Regions from separate parts of the Homo sapiens genome. Here all the other regions are linked to region 2. Evidence: promoter capture Hi-C in 16 types of primary human blood cells and fetal thymus (Javierre and others, 2016). All regions are on one chromosome and are shown on one strand. Each heading gives the region's core, a stretch centred on a gene start or on the middle of the fragment in contact. The rest is flanking DNA. Distances are from core to core; before and after follow the strand shown. Region 1 has its middle 5.0 kb from the start of ROBO3. Region 2 holds the start of ZNF202 (zinc finger protein 202). Region 3 holds the start of EI24 (EI24 autophagy associated transmembrane protein). Region 4 overlaps CCDC15 (coiled-coil domain containing 15).

Region 1 (3,265 bases), core at 276-2,775, 1.1 Mb after region 2:
TCTCATACACTGCTGTGGGACTGTCAATTGTGGCACCATTTGAAGGGCAATTTGATGATATATATGAAAATTTAAATGCGGCCGGGCTCGGTGGCTCATGCCTGTAATCCCAGCACTTTGGGAGGCCAAGGGAGGCGGATCACTTGAGGTCAGGAGTTTGAGACCAGCCTGGCCAACATGGTGAAATACCATCTCTACTAAAAATACAAAAATTAGCCGGGCATCAGGGCATACTCCTGTAATCCCAGCTGCTCAAAAGGCTGAAGCAGAAGAATCGCCTGAATCTGGGAGGCAGAGGTTGCAGTCAGTCGAGATTGAGCCACTGCAGCCTGGGCAACAGAGTGAGACTCCACCTCAAAAAAAAATGTATATATATATATATAAATGCACATACTTCTTGCTATGTAACTTTAAGCAGTTACTTAAGTAAAGTTACTTTACTTGCTGTGCTTTCTTAGGCATAATTTTCTTATCTGAAAACTGGAAATAATAGTACCCACCTCGCAGCGTTCCTATGAGCATTACATGAGATTATGCCTGCAAAGTGCTCAGATTTTTCTCATTCCTGGTAGCTTGCACATCCAGAACTATGTCTGGCCCACAGTGGGTACCTGGTGAACATCTGCTGAATGAAGAAATTAATAAAACCACTCAATAAACATTAGCTGTTGTTAGTTATTATTTGCCTCTATAATTTCACTTTTTACAATTTATTCTACAGCTAGAGATGTGTGTAAAGATATAGGTGTAGTATGTTTATTAGTAGCATTGTTTGTAAAACAAAAAGCCAGAAACAACCTAAGCTTCCATAAATAGGGGACTGATTACAAATGTACAATAAACCTATGCAATGGAATATTAGCCAGCCAGTAAAGTAAAAAAGATGGAGATACATGAACTGATAGAAAGAGATGCCCTAAAAATATCGATGGGTTAAAAAAGGCAAGTTGCAGAACAGTACAAATAATCTGAGACAAAGGTCTCACTGTGTTGCCCAGGCTGGTCCTGAACTCCTGGGCTTAAGTGATTCTCCTGCCTCAGCCTCTCAAGTAGCTGGAACTACAAGCCTGTGCCACTATGCCTGGCTAATTTGTACTTTAAAAGAATAGAGAGGATGGGCACAGTGGCTCGTGCCTATAATTTCAGCACTTTGGGAGGCCAAGGCAGGTGGATTGTCTGAGCTGAGGAGCTCAAGACCAGCCTGGGCAACATGGCAAAACCCCGTGTCTACCAAAAAAATTTTAAAAAAATTAGCCGGGTGTGGTGGTGCACGCCTATGGTGCCAGCTATTCGGGAGGCTGAGGTGGGAGGATCGCTTGCACCTGGGAAGTGGAGGTTGCAGTTAGTGGAGATTGTGCCACTGCACTCCAGCCTGGGTGACGGAGTGAGACCTTGTCTCAAAAAATATATTAATAAATAAAATAAAAGGAATAGAGATACATATGCTTATATATGCTTTTTAAAAAGAATCAGAAAGGACACACAAGAAACCACGGGTAGCTACCCAGGCAACTGGATCTGTAGGATAAAGAAGGACTTGATGGAGTGAGGACTTAGACTTTTCATCTTACACTTTCTTATACTGCTTGAATATGTTTGCCTGAACATGCATTATGATTATCATTACAAGAATATTTTAAAAACTCAAATAATAGGGCCCTGGGGGAGTATCAGGAATATGGAGAGAGCAGAAGAGGAAGGAAATACAGGAAAATAAGGTATACTAAGTTAAATGTGTTGTCCCCCCTAAAAAAGTCCTACTCACCCAAAACTTCAGAATGTGACTTCATTTGAAAATGAGGGTTTTTGCAGATGTAATTAGTTAGGGTGAAGTCATGCTGGATTAAATTGGACTCTAATCCAATGACTGGTGGCCTTATAAGAAGAGGTAAGAGACACCGAGACACACACCCAGGGAAGGCCATAAGAAGACAGAGGCAGAGATGGAGTGATGAATCCTCAAGACCAGGAAGGCCAAGCACTGCTGGTAATCAGCAGATGCTGGAGGAGGCAAGAACAGATCCCTCCCTGGAGCCTTCAGGGAGAGCATGGCCCAGCTGACACCTTGATTTCAGGCTTCTAACCTGTGAGAGGATACATTTCTGTTGTTTTAGGCCACCTAGTTTTTGGTACTTTCTTACAGCAGCTGTAATGCAAAAGGAGAGAGAGAGAAGGCTAGTGGGCTCTGCAGGGGTAGTTGTGAGGACTAACTATTTAATCAGGTATAGTCACCAAGTGTATATTTATGGAAGCTTGCTCTGTATCTAGTTTTATAAAAAGAACCAAGAAAGCTCTTTTTCTCCCTGGACTTTGTTTTATCTGTATTGGGATGTGAACATTTCTGCCCAGTTGTCTCCAGATTTCCAGTCTTGGTAGAGTGTGTTGCAAAGTGTCTCCCCACAGTCTCCTCCACTGGAACCCTGTGGGGAAAGGGGGACTTTCATGCAGGGGGCCTTGGCTTATTATCTCAGCAGCTATAGGGGTTGAGCCAACACACTCTGGCTCCTGCCGGGGGCAGGCTCCTGCTGTCTGCTTTCCAGCTGGGTGCCTGCTCTTTGCTCTCTGATTCCCCCTCCTGTTTGGTTCTCTGGCCCCTGCTGGCTGGGTCGCTGCCCCCTGGCATCATCACTCTGAAGCCAGCAGCCCTGCTGGGCCATTCACAGGCATACCCTAGTGGGGGTAAGGGGCAGATGTTATTTCTTTGTCCCCCTCCCAGCAAACACACACACACACACACACACACACACACACACACAATCTCACACTCAATATGTATTAATGTCCTGGGAAGGGGTCCAGGCAGAGAGTGATGGCAGGCTACAGGCTCTGGGGGGATGCAAATGGACCGGACAGTGTGTGTGTACATTGGGGGGAGGCAGTGGTAGTAATGGGGGGTTGTCTTCAGACTGCACTCCTGGGCAATTACATGCCAGCAGCTTCATCCACTACCAGCCGGCATGCAGGCTTTAGACCACCAAGAAGCCTCCCCATATGGCCCCAGCTTGGCCACTGAAAATTCCCAGCCACATTCTCTGGCCGATATGCTGGCACTAGGCCAAGAAAGTTAGCCTGGGGTAGCTGTTCTCTCCCCTAGCACGTGAACACACACACACACACTCACACACCAGTGGGGGGTGGGATGGAGAGTTCCTTTAGAGGCTCATGATTCCCAAAACACCACTCTTGTGTAGGGTTCCTGCCTTACTCATAATCACTTGCCCTTCCCATTTCCCATGTTCCTCTGCAAATCCACCCACCCAAAATA
Region 2 (3,048 bases), core at 67-2,566:
GAAAGTTATCCCAGACTGCTCCGCGTTCACACGCTTCCCACCAACAAACCTCCTCCCAAGGCTATCCCACAACCTTTCTGAAGTAGCTTCCTGGATCAAGCCCCACGGGGCAGCTTGGAAGAGAAGCTGGGAGGGATGAGGGGCTCCACTAGCATTCCTTGTGGCTTCTGAGTGTAGCTGCCCTGGGTGTCACCTGCAGAGCGTGGATAGAGAAAAAGCAACAGTTCTAAGCCCAGCCTCTAATTGAGAGCCTGGGATCTAGCGCTGCTCCCCAGGACCAAGGTTGTTCAAGAAAGGCTGGGTCTAAGAGTCTCCCTCTGGGGAGGTCAGTACAGATTCCAAGGCAGACAGGGTTATCAAAGCGCCTAGAAGATGAGAACATTCATTGTTCAGAAAAACAAAAATTAGACTGACACCTTTCTGAAGGAACACAGCCTATCCATGGCACAAAAACAAATTTTTAATCAAGACACTCAAGAAGTAGGTATACTCCTGCTAAAAGTAACGCAGGTGCTGAGAAGAGGTGCCAAAACTGGCTGTTAGGAGTGGGAGGAGAGGAAAGTTGCAAGTGGAGACAGCAGCTACTGGCTTGAGGGGACCTCAGGGTCTGTCACAGTGGCAGCTGAAAAGCCTCTGGCCAAATGGACGCCAAGGACTACTATCATCACAGGTGACAAGATCACGGGTGAGTGTATCTGGGTGTGTGCTGGGGGGCTGAGGGGGGCTTGGTGGTGTAAGGAGATGGGGCTAGCCGGGGCAAGGAGCCCGCGGAGATGATCTTAAGCAATCTGAGAGGAGGGGTAAGAAAAAGCTGCGGAAAATAAAGGGGCCTAGACCACTCCTCCCTCGGTTCCGGGGGGACAGTTGGCGCGGAAGCGTTAGGAGGTACGAGGTACGGACTAACTACATTTCTGCAGGCCCCAGGAGGGGGCGGAGGGCGGTGGCTGGAAAGGAAAGGAAGCCGGGAGCGCCATCCGTGTCCCCGGAGATACTGGCTCCGGCCACCAGGAAACACAGAGACCACAACGTCTCGGCACCCTCAGTACACCGCCGCCACCCCTTCCCCAGGACACGGCGATTTCCCCAGACTCTGGGGGGCGGGGTCTCCGGTCCCTCCCCCTCCTCCCCGCCCTGCCCGGCTCTGCCCGATCTGGTCCGGCCCGGTCCAGCCCGGCCCGGCCCAGCCCAGCCCACTCAGGACTCACGGCTCCGACAGCTCCGGCGGCTCCTCCCCTGCCCCGGCTTCTCTCCCACCCACTCCCGACCGAAACAGCGCCGCCGGATCCGAGCCGCGCGGGGCCTAGCGGGTCGGAACACGTGGGGCCTTTGCGCCCGGAACCGGAAGCGATCGCTCGCCCCGCCTTCTCGCCGAGTAGGAGCCTTTCTAGGCTGTGGGAGGTTTGATCCTCTCTATGCGCCCTCCGCGGGTTGCGGCTCAGTGCTCCCCAAGGACCCAGTGCGAAGAAGCCTCGGACCCCACAGCTGCCGTCCGCGACCCCTAACTCCACTCTGCAGCGAATAAATTAACATCTTGGGCCTTTCATTTACAGGCATACCTTCTGCAAGGGTTTTCTTTTTCTTTTCTTTTTTCTTTTCTGTTTTTGATCTTTTGTGTGTTTGTTTTCATTTGGATACCTCTACGTGTTTTTCTTGATTTTTTTTTCTTTGCATTGTCCGCTGCAACATGGTAGAAAAGGGCAGCGTTAGGTTTGAATACTGGCTCTTGCAGTCACCATCAGCAGCAGGGCCTCGGCCGAATCTCTCCATCTTTGAACCCTATTGTGCATCATATAAAACGGGCATAATAATACCGTTACTCTGAGGACTAAATGATACATTGCACATGAACTGAATGGAACATCAGAAGCTCAGAAAGAAAATAGTTATGGTATCACTGTTCTTTCTTTTCCTTTGAGTGTTGCTTCGTATTTCTTTACTTTCAGGCTGTCTTCCCTGATCTCATTTGTTCATTTTTGTCCGTTCGGTGACCTTTCTGCCCATACTTGACATTTTCCTTTGCTCTCTGTCCCTTTTACCCTGTAAGTCACCACTCTCCACGTGCCATGTGCCACTTCCTTTTCATGGGACACATTGCTGGGATCTGTTTACTGGGTTTGAACCAAAGGATTAGTTACTTTTGGTGGAGTGGCAGTGTATTAGCGAAACAGAACTAATAGGTGTGAACCCAGAAGGCAGGACAACTCAAAGCGGGGAGGGGGCTTCCAGGTCATAGGTAGATAAGACACAAATGGTTGCATTGAGTTGCTGATTAGCCTCTCCGGAAGGAGGCAATCAGATATGCATTTATCTCAGTGAGCAGAGAGGTGACTTTGAATAGAAGGGGAGGCAGGTTTGCCCTAAGCAGTTCCCAGCATGAATTTTCCCTTTAGTGATTTTGGGGGCCCCAAATCACTTTCCTTTCACACGGGGTATGTATAAACATATAAAAGGAGATTTATTATAAGGAGTTGGCTTACATAATTATGGACGTTGAGAAGTCCCACCATCTGCTTACTGCAAGCTGGAGAAATAAGGAGGTTGGTGGTATAATTCAGTCTAAAGCTGAAGGCCTGAGAACTGGAAAGGGATTGAGGTGCTGGTGTCTGAAGGCCAGAGAGCAGGAGGAGATGATGTCCCAGCTCAAGAAGAGAGAGGTGAATTTACTTTTCCTCTGCCTTTTTATACTATTTGGGCCCTCAATGGATTGGATGGTGCCTACGCATAGTGGTGAGAGTGATTTTCTTTACTCAGTCTACTGATTCAAATGCTAATCTCTCTCTCTTTTTTTTTTTTTTTTTTTTTTTTGGACAGAGTCTTGCTCTGTCGCCCAGCGATCTCGGCTTACTGCAATGTCTGCCTCCTGGGTTCAAGCAATTCTCCTGCCTCAGCCTCCCGAATAGCTGGGATTACAGGCATGTGCCACCATGCCCAGCTATTTTTTTTTTGTGTGTGTGTATTTTTAGTAGAGAGGGGGTTTCACCATATTGGCCAGAAACACCCTCACAGACACACCGACTAATAATGTTTTCTGTTGTCTGGGCATCCCTT
Region 3 (2,982 bases), core at 390-2,889, 1.8 Mb after region 2:
TCCTCATTTGTGAAATTTGGAAAATAATATCCTCTACTTGTCCACAAATAGCATCTAATCATACATAAGCATGTGAGAGCTCTTTAAAAATGCAAGGTATTAATTATTATTGGTTTTTATTTTAAATGTGGTTATACATGTTGAGATTTAAAAGATTTCCTCCCGGCCAGGCGCAGTGGCTCACGCCTGTAATCCCAGCACTTTGGGAGGCTGTAGGTGGGCGGACCACGAGGTCAGGAGATCGAGACCATCCTGGCTAACACGGTGAAACCCCGTCTCTACTAAAAATACAAAAAAATTAGCCATGCTTGGTGGCAGGTGCCTGTAGTCCCAGCTACTCAGGAGGCTGAGGCAGGAGAATGGCGTGAACCCAGGGGGCGGAGCTTGCAGTGAGCCGAGATCGCACCACTGCACTCCAGCCTGGGAGACAAAGACAGACTCAGTCTCAAAAAAAAAAAAAAAAAAAGATTTCCTCCCATGAAGTAAGCCAGAATAAACTCATACCTACTAAATTCTTTCTAAAATCTTTTCTAAATTGACACTCTTGAGAAAGAATAGAGCTTGGAGGAAGAGCTATTATTATAATTAATAGCACAATAATCAGTTTGTCATTAAACCACTTAGGTCTCTTTGTAACAAGATTTCTAAGCTTTAGTAGATGGATTCCTTATTCTATTCTATTTTATATTGTTTTGTTTTGTTTTATTTTATTTTATTTTTCGAGACAGTCTAGCTGTGTCACCCAGGCTGAAGTGCAGTAGTGCGATCTCGGCTCACCGCAACCTCTGCCTCCTGAATTGAAGTGATTCTCATTCCTTAGCCGACCAAGTAGCTGGGACCACAGGTGTGTGCCACCATGCCCAGCTAATTTTTTGTATTTTTAGTAGAGACGGGATTTCACCATCTTGGCCAGGGTGGCCTCAAGTGATCTGCCCGCCTCAGCTTCCCAAAGTGCTGAGGTTACACGCATGAGCCACCGTGCCCAGCCACTTATTTTATTTCATTTTTTAAATTTATTATTATTATTATTATTTTGAGACTGAGTCTTGCTCAGTCGCCCAGGCAGGAGTGCAGTGGTGTGATCTCGGCTCACTGCAACCTTCATCCCCTGAGTTCAAGTAATTCTCCTGCCTCAGCCTCCTGAGTAGCTGGGACCACAGGCAGGTACCACCACACCTGGCTAATTTTTGTTATTTTAGTAGAGATGGGGTTTCGCTATGTTGGCCAGGCTGGTCTTGAACTCCTGACCTCGTGATCTGCCTGCCTTGGCCTCCCAAAATGCTGGGATTAAAGGCATCCTGTTACTAATTTCACAGGATTTTAGAAACGCAAGCAGCGTTGTGGAGTCAATGGGGGAGGGCAAAGAACAGGAGGAGAGATCTGTGAGAACGGGATCGGCGAGGAGGCGACGGGGAGGAGGCGACGCGGAGGGGTGAGGGGTCCTCTCCGCCGCCAGGCGGAGTTGGGAGCCGGACGATCCCGCACGCAGCGCGAGGCGGGACCCCGGACTGACTACATTTCCCAGTCTCCGTCGCTCCGCGCGGCCCACCCCTTCGGCTCTGGGCCCCGCCTCGTGGTGCCGGCTGGTTCTTCGCGCTCGCCCGACTTCCCAGCGGCCCCGTGCGGCCCGGGCATGCCCAGTGCGGGCGCAGCGGCCCCGGCCCTGGAAGCGCCCCGGCGGAGCTGGCCTGCGGTGGGCTAGGGGCAGGGCCGGAGCCGCGGCGGCGGAGCTGTGGGTAGGTGCGGGCTCAGCCGAGCTAGGCCTCGGGGCCGCCGCGCCGCCCATTCTGAGTGGCAGGGACCGGGAGGGCAGGCAGGGCCCGAGCGTGGGTTGGTGGGGCTACCGGCGAGGACCCCTTATGGGAAGGGGCCGGAGGGAGCGGGACGGGGCCGGGCACATCCCCGGGCGAGGCTGCCCCAGGTGCGGCGCAGCTATCTTTAGCTCCCTGTGTGACCCGGAGCGTGCGTGATCCGCACCTCGCGTGATCCGTACCTCGTGCACAGTTGTGCCTAGGGAGACCAGTTTTCTGCCGAATTGCCTAGGAGCTGTGGGGAGATGGGCCTGAATGGACCCGTGGACTCAGAGGCAGCCCGTGGAGCCCCGTGGGAAGTGAGGATGTTTACCTTCCCTGTACCTGGAGTGGGCTACGACAGCTTCCTGTTTGCCGAGACTTGGGTTTAGTGACTTAGAAATAAAAGTGTGTCTCAGCAGATGCTTATTAGCTTCTAATGACTGTTGGGAATTTAATGGCATTTGTATTTCCAGGTTTGAGAGGTTATTTGTCCATGGGATGCTCGTGTTAAAACAAAAATCTTCATTGCAAAGCTTAAGTAAAAACAAGTCTCGACCGAGGTAACGTTAGAACACCGGGTTCTGAGGTTCACTGTAGCTGCCATTCATTTGCTGTCAGTCTGGGCAAGTCATTTAACTTCTGAGACTGGGTTCTCTCACCTGTTAAATGAGCCAGATGCATCTTCATCTGTCTAGCTCAGCTGTAGGATTCCCCCTGTGTCATTCAGTCTGTGTGTGTGTTCTCAAATTGTGGCAGGTTATTTTTCCCCATGCCTCAGCTATTTGTCAGACTGGGTAATTCACCAAATATTCCTGTAGGAAGGATGTTAGGATCTAAGTATAAAAGTGAAGTGATTTATCCTTCATAGGTCACTCTTAGGAGGTGTCCTGCCACTTGGTACATGCAGAAACCAGGTGTTAGCTGGCCAGGGATCAAATGACACAGCTGTTGTGGACTGAGACAGAATGTTTCAGGTTCCCTGTCAGTTCCCTGTGAGAAATCCAGGCCAAGTAATGGGCTTCCTTAAACCTCCAAGCTGGCTCACTTTGGTGGGGTTGTGTTTATATAGAATTTTAAGTTTTTTTCATGCTGTTGTGCCCTATTAGATGCAAGAAACCTATGAAGAAGTTTAGTACCCTTAATTTATAGATGAGCCAGTGGCAGGTTACGGGAGTGGATCTGTGAGTCT
Region 4 (3,196 bases), core at 384-2,883, 1.2 Mb after region 2:
ACCCAGGAAAGTGTAATGAAGAATTTGATCGGAGAAGGGAAGGGAATGATTCTCCTATTAAGGAGAATGAGGAGAGTAAGAAGTAAGCAAGGTTCAGGATTCTAAGGGTAGATTAGATCGATTGGAGTGGAAAGCTTAGTAGGAGAATGGTTGCTGACAGGATTATGGAAAATAGGGATGGTAGAGTACCTTAGGAAATTTTGGAGAAGGGATTGACTTTGTTTAATATTTACAGGTGAATGTCATGATCAACCAGTGTTTTCTTTAGATGAATTGCTTCAAAGGTTTTGAAGGATAGGGAGTGATTGGATCCTGGGGATAAATTAGAATATAATTATAATAATTTAAGCATGGAGTATAGCATCGAAACTTTGTTAGTGGTAAGAAATAGAGAAGAACAGCCTTGAAAAAGGATGATTGAAGTGCTTGAGCCCACGAATTGTAGGCTGCAGTGAACTATGATCATACTACTGCACTCTAGCCTGGGCAATAGAGTGAGACCCCATCTCTGGAAAAAAAAAAGGAGTGGAATGAGAAGGGATGAATGCAGGAAACACCCCACAAGACTTGGTAAGATTTGGTATAAAGATATTTTGGTATTTAAGTTGTTGACACCTCTTTGTAATTGCTCAAATTACATCTGTATAATATCAGTAGTGTCAACATGCCTAAAATTTGACACCATCAAACTTTTTCTATGTTAAGAAGTATTGACTATCGTATTCACACACATTAACTCAAAATATTAAAGTCTTGGAACATGGATAAACATATCTCCTTTTCCTGATTTAAAAATTTCTGATCAGTTCCAGCCAAAGGGAGTTTGATCAAGCATCTAATAGAACTCCTTATAGCTTTAGCATATCTAGTCTGGGTATCCACCCTTATTAACGGATATAGCTCTGTCAGCTCAAAATAAATGCTGAATAGTTACTTCTAAAGCTTGGCCCTTAGATCATGTCTGTTCTAAAGGGGAACTTCTACTCATTTTTCTCCCCAAAATTTCAGGGGGCCATCAGGATTCCTAAAAATGTCATAGCTTTAGACTACCTCCCCCCAATAATTATTAATAAATTAGCATCAAAAGACACTGCTGTTCTATCATCATATATGGGATTGCATTATTTTATAATTTGTTCTGGTTACCTTTTGCTGTGTAACCAACCACCCCAGAACTTAGTGGTATAAAGCAAATAATACTATGTAACAGGAATTTGAGCAGGGTACAGTGGTAATGGCTTGTTTCTGCCCCATAGTGTCTGGGACCTCAGCTGGGGCTCAAATAACTGGACATGTCTGAGACACCTTGACTATTTTCCGGCTATTGGCTGGAGCTAGACAATAGTCAAGTTCTCCCAGTAATGTGGCACCTGCTGGGCTGTAATGTCCAAGATGGCTTTCTTATTCACATATCTGACGCTTGGCCTAGGATGACTAGAATGTCTGGGTGCTGGTTAGATATGTTTCTCTTTTCACATGGCTTCTCTGTTTGACTAACTTGGGCTTCCTCACAGCATGGTAATCTCAGGGTAGTCTGAATTTTTATATGGTGCTGACTTCCTTCAGAATGAGCACTCTAAGAACAGAGGTGGAAGTTTCTTTATGACCTGGCTTGTAATCTTGTGGAGTAAAAGAGGAGCAGAGAAAATGGAGGTAAAAGAAAGAGGCCGAATGGCTTAAACTTGTCTGGGGCTTGAGTTAAGCTGGGTCAGTTGTTCAGGCTTCATTACGTATATATCTCTCCGTTGGAATTATTTTACCTAATTGTTCTTTGACACTTGTACACTCCACTAGAGTAGTTTATGGGATAGACATCTTGGAAATTTTAACTTAAATTGAAATTTGAATGCATTTGATTTTGAGAATTTAATGACAGCCTGTAAAATGATCTGAGGTACCCTTCAGAATTAGAAGTTGGAATCACTGAGTTAGAAGGAATAGGTACGAGATATGATGATGATTTTATTTAATTTGAAAATTCCTAGTGAAAGAGAGACATAGTCAAGAGAAAAGCAGTGTAGAGAGGAACATAATTGTTGGAGTCAGAAACTTCTAATTCTGCTACTAGTTAGCTATATTAAAATTACTTAATCTTTCTGAACTCCAGCTTCCTCATCTGTAACATAAGGGATAAGAATACCTACTGCCAAAGGTGGTTTTGAGGATAGAGTGCTACAAAGTAGTTAAAATACTTGTCACCTGATAGATCCATAATAATGATAAGTGCTGTTATGATGATGACTATGATTATTATTCAAAGCACTTAGAGGAGATAAATGCAGATCAAGAACTCAAATGGGATAAAGTGTTCCAGATTGTTCAGAACAAGCTTGTCCAACATGCGGCCATGGGCCACATGTGGCCCAGGATGGCTTTGAATGCGACCCAATGTAAATTAATAAATTTTCTTAATTAACACTATGAGTTTTTTTGTGATTTTTTTTTTTCTCATCAGCTACTAGTGTTAATGTATTTTATGTGACAGTTCTTCCAACATGGCCCAGGGAAGCCAAAATATTGGACACCCCTGGTTTAGAATATGTTTTGGAATTGAGCAATTATATAAATATATATTGACTACCCTTATAGTGAAGGCTCTGTACTAGATGCCGTAGGGGAAATAAAGGAGAATTGAATACATATCCTGTCCTCAAAGAGTTCATAATCTAGTAGGGGAGTCAAGAAGTACTATACTCAGTTAACATTGGTGAAATGAGAGGTGTTATAGCATAAGAGGGCTTAGAGAGAGAGTGTTGTGGAAGGTACTGGGGAGTGGGTATTAAATGGTTGTGAAAACTGAATAGGCCTTTACTAGGTGGAGATGAAAGGAAGGGCATGCCAGGTTAAAAATGGAGCATAATGCCAAATATGAAGACATTTTAACAATAGGACATATTTGGTGAGTGGTAAGTAACCTGGTGTGTCTTGACTATTTACTCCATTTTAGAAAATGTGTAACGTGTTAGGTTTTATTTGGTTCATTAAGATTTAATGAAGACATCGTTAGTTCTAATTCAATAAAAAATTTAAGATTTGATACTCATACATTCCATTTTTTTTTGTACAGAATGGAATTATTTTTTTCAGGATTGTATCCTTATCCTGACTGTTTTGTGTTTAAAACAGCCCTAATGGACAAAACTGCTAACATTTAAGTTCATTTTCTGTCTTTCATCTTTAAAGACATCAGCATATT

Evidence for each region. Contacts are between HindIII fragments. The CHiCAGO score rates a contact against its expected background, and 5 or more counts as called.
Region 1: a contact is called between a fragment that was not itself captured here and the fragment with the promoter of ZNF202 in region 2, in 1 of 17 cell types (total B cells). The highest score is 5.1, in total B cells.
Region 3: the fragment with the promoter of EI24 here is called in contact with the fragment with the promoter of ZNF202 in region 2 in 1 of 17 cell types (activated CD4 T cells); the score reaches 5.3 in activated CD4 T cells.
Region 4: a fragment that was not itself captured here is called in contact with the fragment with the promoter of ZNF202 in region 2 in 1 of 17 cell types (naive B cells); the score reaches 6.0 in naive B cells.

The regions. Positions count from the first base shown.
Region 1 is chr11:124,858,845-124,862,109 of GRCh38, forward strand. No RefSeq gene overlaps it. Among named protein-coding and RNA genes, the nearest start is that of ROBO3, 5.0 kb to the right of the region's middle. The HindIII fragment of the contact is 1,449 bases long and covers 802-2,250 here.
Region 2 is chr11:123,740,344-123,743,391 of GRCh38, forward strand. ZNF202 (zinc finger protein 202) reads right to left here and starts at 1,317. Exons shown (of 9, transcript NM_003455.4): 1 at 1,206-1,317; 2 at 74-193. RefSeq lists enhancers at 703-912, 1,902-2,499 and silencers at 1,093-1,222, 1,263-1,312. The HindIII fragment of the contact is 6,844 bases long and covers 1-3,048 here.
Region 3 is chr11:125,567,838-125,570,819 of GRCh38, forward strand. It overlaps EI24 (EI24 autophagy associated transmembrane protein), which reads left to right and starts at 1,640. Exons shown (of 11, transcript NM_004879.5): 1 at 1,640-1,736. STT3A-AS1 (STT3A antisense RNA 1) reads right to left here. Exons shown (of 4, transcript NR_132372.1): 3 at 2,453-2,605; 4 at 271-281. RefSeq lists enhancers at 1,304-1,805, 2,308-2,357 and a silencer at 1,308-1,867. The HindIII fragment of the contact is 1,677 bases long and covers 648-2,324 here.
Region 4 is chr11:124,955,932-124,959,127 of GRCh38, forward strand. It overlaps CCDC15 (coiled-coil domain containing 15), which reads left to right. Exons shown (of 16, transcript NM_025004.3): 3 at 3,184-3,196. Among named protein-coding and RNA genes, the nearest start is that of CCDC15, 3.3 kb to the left of the region's middle. The HindIII fragment of the contact is 1,387 bases long and covers 941-2,327 here.